Linked DNA regions of Homo sapiens: region 1 is linked to region 2. Evidence: promoter capture Hi-C in human tissues and cell types (Jung and others, 2019). All regions are on one chromosome and are shown on one strand. The core of a region is centred on a gene start or on the middle of the fragment in contact, and the rest is flanking DNA. Distances in the headings are between cores, read along the strand shown. Region 1 overlaps BRAF (B-Raf proto-oncogene, serine/threonine kinase). Region 2 holds the start of CLEC2L (C-type lectin domain family 2 member L).

Region 1 (3,578 bases), core at 866-3,365, 1.4 Mb before region 2:
AGTGAGGAAAGTGGGGTCAATAAATTTTTAATGATAAGAAAAAGAAGAGCGTATGATGATAGGAATGAGCCATTAGAGAGTAAAACGTTTCAGGAGGGAGAGAGAAGAATTGCTGAAGCACTGTCTTAGAAGAGGTAAGAGGGAAAGGGATTTAGTGTATAAATAGGAAGGATTGGCTTTCTATAGGAGCATCTATACTTTATGATAATAGGCCATTAAGCAGAGTATGTGGTTAGAAATGCTGCTAGGAAGGTCGACGTGATTGGTGGAGTCTGTACACGTTCTGTTGCAGTTGCTTTGGTTTTTTTCAGTGAAGTAAGACTTGAGGTTATCAGCCGAGAATGAGGATTGGGGATATGTGAAAGTAGCTCCGCAGCAGTATGGGAGCATAAATGAACTGGAGACAAATAGTAAAATTAATGGGCAATTTTTTTTCCTTTAAGAGATGGGGGTCTCACTCTGCTACCCAGGCTGGGGTGCAGTGGCACAGTCATAGCTCACTGCAGCCTCCAACTCCTGGGCTCAAGTGATTTTCTCACCTCAGCTTCCCGAGTAGCCAGGACTATAGGCTAATGGCAATATTAAGTTATTTTATGAGTTGTCTAGACAGCATTATGAGTCTCCTAACTTTTTGGTACTGATCTTCAGATCAGAGTTAAATGTAACTTGCCCAGGCAATTTAAACACTCAATATGAGTCATTTTCATTTGGACTCAAACATGGAATCATTGGGAAATAGAACATGAATTTATTACTCCTTAATGAAGTACCTGCCACTATCCTGCCATGAATGTAGGCTAAATTTGGAGTGGTCTGGTAACTGCTTTTCTTTTAAAAAAATTTTCTTCATCTTTTCTGTATCAAATACTTACTGGTTTTTCTATGTAGAATAACATAATCTCATCATTACTTTCTTTCAAACACTCTCCAAATTTGACTTGTCTTTGCTCATGTTTTTCCTACCACCTGAAATACAGATTTCCTCCCCCATCCCACCCTCCAAACCTTCCAGACTTACCTCACCTACCGTTTATTGTAGGAAGCTTTTCTTAACCTCTTTCCAAGTCCTAGTTTGATGCCTCTGCTTTGTGCTTTTGTAGAATCCCAGAGTTTACCTTGTTTTACTCACTATATCGTATTGTGGGGTTTTTTTGTTAATAGGTATTTCTTTTTCCTCTAGACCTGCACTGTTCAGTCATACTTTCTGTGATGATGGAAATGTTCAGTGTCGTCTTAATATGGTAGACAGTAGCCGTATCTATGTGGCTACTGTGCACTTCAAATTTGCATAGCAGGACTGAGGAACTAAATTTTATTTCATTTTAATTAATTTAAAAATAACTAGCCTGATGGCTAGTGGCTGCTTTAATCAGTGCAGTTCTAGACCCCTTCAAAGTCAAGAGTGTGTGGGATTCATACTTATTCTCTCGTTGCTTAACAATAATACTGTCTAATACTTAAATGACTGAATTCTTTTTCGGTACTCTTAGTCTGCATAGTTATAACTCACCTAGAATATGGCAGTTTTGTTCTCTAGATTTCTGTCTTTAACCATGGCTTTTCAGTTTGTTTTCAAGATTATGTTGATTTACACAGCACTGAGTTCTTCAGTCCTGCGAAGTTAGCGTTTTGGTTGGATGTGGTGGCTGGCATCTGTAATCCCAGCAATATGGGAGGCTGAGGCGGGACGACTGCTTGAAGCCAGGACTTTGAGATCAGCCTGGGCAACATAGCGAGCCCCTGTCTCTACAAAAAATTAGCTGAGTGTGGTGGCATCCACATGTAGTCCCAGCTACTTGGGAGGCTGAGGGCGGGAGGATTGCTTGAACCCAGTTCACGGCTGCAGTGAGCTATGATCACACCACTGCACTCCTGCCTGGGTGACAGAGCAGGAGTCACCCTCTCAAAAAAAAAGTGTATTTTTTCCCCTTTAGGACTGAAAAAATTGGGTGTTACAAGATTACCTCAAGGACTGGTCTGAGAACTGGGGATGGTAAGGAAGAAACTCAAGTGGCCAGCCTCTGGTTTGTGGGGGTAGGTGGGCAATTTCTGTTTCAACCAAAGCAGTTCTACTTCATAAATTAATATATTGGAATTGTGCTTGGGATTTCATTTGGAGGGGAAAAAAGTCTTCTAAACAATAACACTGTTAATTGAAGAGACAAAGCATGCATATGGCAGCACGTGATTAACCACCAAAGTGGATAACAGATCAAGAAGACATGGGAAGTTGTTATGGGCTAGTGAGGTCTTGATGGAAGTTAAGGTTTAATTTAGGTAGGTAGAAGGAAGACAAAAGGATGTAATAGGCAGTGGGAATAGAATTTGCAAAGAATTGGAGTTGGAAATACATATGTTAGTTTTGGTTAAGAAACAATGAGCTGATTATAGTTGAGCAAATTGTATGAAATAAAATTTGACAAAATTAGATGGGACTGGATTGTAGGAAAAAGTGATAGGCTGACAAAAAGTGCACTTTATATTGCATGCAATGAGATGAAATACTCGGAGGTATTTTGGTTGTTACAAAGATGGAGGAAGAGGACACTATTAGCATTTAATGAGAAAGGATCAGGGAAGTCAGCCATCCCACAATGTTCAGGACAGTTTGCACATTTAAGAATTGTTCCAAATCACCACATGACCTAGAATGACTTGCTGGACTTTGATGATGTAGGTTAAAAAAAAAAAGTGATCATAATGATGTGAGCATAGACAGTAACTCCATTTTGTGTATGAGGCACTTTTTTGTTGTTGTTGTTGTTGTTGTTGTTGTTGTTGTTGTTTTGAGACGGAGTTTCGCTCTTGTTGCCCAGGCTGAAATGCAGTGGCACCATCTAGGCTCACTGTAACTGAGGCACCTTTAATATACACTAAGATTTTCAGGAATTCAGTTACCACAATATTGGAGGAATGTTAAAGTTTTTGTTCAGAACTTTATCAGGAGTACTCCACCCCTTTAGAAAATCACGTAATTGATGGCAGTGTCACTTGTGCTGTATTGGTGACGCAAATACTCTTCAGTCTGCAGTTGTAACTGCCACAGTCACAGTGCTTGTTGTATATATGTACAAAGTACCATCAGTGTGTTATTTATTATAGTAATAGCCTAAATATTATAAAATTGCACTAAGGTAGATTATCTCTGAATTACATTTATTTTTTATTTTTATTTTTGTGACGGAGTTTTGCTCTTATTGCCCAGGGTGGAGTACAATGGCGTGCTCACCAAAACCTTCGCCTCCCGGGTTCAAGCGATTCTCCTGCCTCAGCCTCCCAAGTAGCTGGGATTACAGGCATGTGCCACCATGCCCGGCTAATTTTGTATTTTTATTAGAGACGGGGGTTTTCCATGTTGGTCAGGCTTGTCTTGAACTCCCGACCTCAGGTGATCTGCCCGCCTCGGCCTCCCAAAGTGCTGGGATTACAGGCATGAACCACTGTGCCCAGCCTCTGAATTACATTTAAGGGTAGTATAGAGAATGTACAAAATAGTTGTTGTAAAAAGGAGAAATTGATTTCTGTTTTCAGTATTGGAAGACTGGGTTATTCAGATGAAAACAATTAAAATTCTTGGA
Region 2 (3,357 bases), core at 534-3,033:
CATCTTCGCCTCCTCTGTCCCTGCCACTGTCTGGTGGTCCAGCTTCAGAGTCTGCACAGCCCTTCCTCGGACAGTGCACGTCCCCTGGCCCATAGCCTTTGTGCAGAAGGCTGGCATTACCATCCCCACCTCGCCATCCTCAGCAGCCCCATGACCTGCCTTGGCCCAGCTGCTGGTTATGTCCCTCCTGGTCCACTGCCCCACCCCCTCCCTGACCTCGAGCCTGGGTCCCACCCCTCTGGGCCACCACCAGTCTTCCAAGGGCAAGCCCACCATCTCCACCCCTCAGTAGCCCCTTCAGAACAAAGTCCAAGCTCCTGGGCAAGGCCTGGCTGGCCCTTCACCGTCTGGGTCCTTCAGGCCCGTCTCTCTCCACCCTGCCCCATCTCAGTACTCCAGGGCTCAGTTCCCACGTGGCACAGAGTAGCTCTGACCACCTGGCCTGGGATACGTCATGCTCTGGGTCTGGAACACCTTCCCCTCTGTCTCCACGCCTGCTAAGAGGTCACCTACTCCTGGGAAGCCCTCCTTTTCTGACACTGCCTCCCTAAGGATGGGTGATCCAGGCTCCAGGCTTCCCTAGTTAATGCTGCCCAGGTCCTCCTTGTCCTTGGATTCAGGGTGCCAGGAGCACCCTGAGAAGCACCCAAAGGGCCAGCCACCCTCTCACCAACTCCTGCATCTCCCACACCACACGCCGCCGGCGGTAGCTAATACAAGTTTCCTTAAAGAGCTCATGAACTTGAAATCAATTCTCTACTTGGGTTACTGCCCCGGAGGCAGGCCAGGGGTCCCTCCCTGAGGCAGTCTGATGGAGGAGTAGGTGTGACCCCTGACCTTGCAAGGAAGAGCCTCTCCTGGATTCTCCACCCCTGCCCTGCCCTGCCCTCCCCACATGCCCCACCACCACGGGGTCCCCGCGGCTCTCACAGGGGCGGGCACCACCTCTGGGGTCTCCAGCTTTCTTACTTTACTCGAAGCGTGTTCACGACCACAGATTCCGCCACCCTCTCAACACGCCTGTCTGGTGGGTGTCAGGCAGTGTTTGTCCCCTTCATGCGTGAGGAGACGAAGGCTCAGAGCGTGAAGCCCGCTCCAAGGTCAGAGAGGGAGTCGCAGCAGAGGCGGGGTCGAGGCTGTGACTCGCGGTGGCCCCCGGTTCCCTCCCACCCCACCCCACGAACCGGCGTCTGGCCGCCCTGAAATGAATGACTCCGCCGCGTCCCGGCGCCGCGCTCCCAGCGCTCCCCTCCGGGACAGCGGCCAAGGTGACTCTGACCGCCTCCGGGTCGCGGGTCGGGCCTGGGCAGGGGTCCCTGGGCCAGGAGAGGGAGGCCGCTCCGCGCTTACCCTCCAAGGCCGCCTTCCAGCTGGTGCTGCCCTCGTAGCCCGACCCGGATCGCCGCAGCAGCCCCTCGGGGCCGCGGGCCTCAGCCTCTGCGGGCGAACGCGGCCTGGGGGCGGCGGGGGCGGGCGCGGGGCGCGCGGCGAGGGGCGGCGGCGGCCGGGCCCGCGAGGGGGGCTCCCGGGCCGGCTCCATGCGGGGCGCTCCGCCGCGCCGCGCCCGCGCTCCTGCACCGGGGTGCGGGGCCCAGCCCGACGCGCACTCGGCGCTCCGCGCGCCCTGCGGGCCCCCCAGGCCGGCCTCGGGTGGGCTAGGACCGCGGCGCTGGCAGGCCGGGGCTGAGCCCGGCTCCCCGCGCTGGAGCCTCTGCGCCGGGTGCCGCCGCGGTGCGCTCAGCGCCTGCCCCGCCGAGCCGCAGCCTCCACGCACAGCCGGGCTGGGGAGGAGCGCGAGGCGGCGCGCGGGAGCCGGGAGCCGTGGACCCGGGCGGGGCGGGGCAGGGGCGGAGAGGGAGGAGGCGCGGAGGAGCGGGGACAGCCGGCTCCCCGACCCCGCCACCTGGGCTGGAGGCTGGATGCTGTCGAGCTGGGAGCGCAGTCTTGGAGCCGGGAGACCTGGTTCTAACTCAGCTCCATCTCCCCAGCCGCCTGCTCACCATCTGTGAAAATGGGAATAAAGTTCGCGGGGACAGTGCAGGGAGGCTCAGGGAAGATGAGCGCCTTTCTTCCCGGCTGCCCTGGAGCCACAGCAGAGGGTGGTAGGGGCTGTGACTTGACCCCCAAACTCTTGATAAAGGAGAGAAACGTCCGAACGATGAGCACAGAGACAGTAGAGTCTAAAGGAGCAAGCGAAGTGACGTTGCAGATTCAATTAACATTTATTGAGCACCTACTAAGCGCCAGGGACTTTCACATATTATTAGCTGACAATGCCCCCAGGTGAGGCTGAGAAGTGGAATTTTGAGGTCAAGGACATTTCCGAAGGCGGCGCCAGGCAGGTGCGTGCTTGGCGGGTGTCTGACTCCCAGGCCAGGGCTCCCTCCGGAGCCTTCACTGGCCCCTTGCCTCAGCTGACCTCGCGTCGCCTGAAGCCCCACGCCTCCAGCCCTGATCCTCTTCCCCCTCCACCATTCTCAGCCCCAACCTCTGGTTCCTGTCTCCATCTTCAGTTCCTCATCCCCAGCTCCTCCTGCTCCCTCCCCCAAATCCAATAGGCCACTGACTCTTGTGAATTCTCCCTTTTAAAATATTTTTATTTTTATTTTTTGAGACAGGGTCTCGTTCTGTAGCCCAGGCTGGAGTGCAGTGTCACTACAGCCTCGGCCTCCCAGGCTCAAGCGATCCTCCCACCTGGGTCTCCCAAAGTTCTAGGATTGCAGGCGTGAGCTGCCGTGCCCGGCCCCTTTTTTTTTTTTTTTTTTTTTTTGAGACGGAGTCTCGCTCTGTCGCCCAGGCTGGAGTGCAGTGGCGGGATCTCGGCTCACTGCAAGCTCCGCCTCCCGGGTTCACGCCATTCTCCTGCCTCAGCCTCCCAAGTAGCTGGGACTACAGGCGCCCGCCACTACGCCCGGCTAATTTTTTTGTATTTTTAGTAGAGACGGGGTTTCACCGTTTTAGCCGGGATGGTCTCGATCTCCTGACCTCGTGATCCGCCCGCCTCGGCCTCCCAAAGTGCTGGGATTACAGGCGTGAGCCACCGCGCCCGGCCGCCCGGCCCCTTTTAAACTCTTAGTCTGCGCATTGCACTCCATCCCTCTAGCCACTGGCCAAGTACAAGCCAATGCCTTCTCTTGCCCGACCACAGCAGCAGCCTTCTAAGGGGTCTCCCATCCTCCACTCTTGCTCCCTCCTATCCAGCCCCTCCCCCTCCACACCCGCAGCATCTACCTAAAGTGCAAACTCACCACTCCTTCAGGGGTCCCTTTACCTGTGGATTAAGGCCATCTTTTTACAAGGCCTCAAGGTCCCTCATGGTCAAAGTCCTGCTCCTACCTAAGGCATCCTCTCCTCCCA

The links. Contacts are between HindIII fragments. The study calls those that stand out against the background at their distance.
Region 1: a contact is called between a fragment that was not itself captured here and the fragment with the promoter of CLEC2L in region 2, in 1 of the 25 tissues and cell types used here (dorsolateral prefrontal cortex).

The regions. Positions count from the first base shown.
Region 1 is chr7:140,909,018-140,912,595 of GRCh38, reverse strand. All of the region lies in intron 1 of BRAF (B-Raf proto-oncogene, serine/threonine kinase), which reads left to right. Among named protein-coding and RNA genes, the nearest start is that of BRAF, 14 kb to the left of the region's middle. The HindIII fragment of the contact is 4,458 bases long and covers 1-3,578 here.
Region 2 is chr7:139,522,111-139,525,467 of GRCh38, reverse strand. CLEC2L (C-type lectin domain family 2 member L) reads right to left here and starts at 1,783. Exons shown (of 5, transcript NM_001080511.4): 1 at 1,351-1,783. The coding sequence starts at 1,540. The HindIII fragment of the contact is 23,998 bases long and covers 1-3,357 here.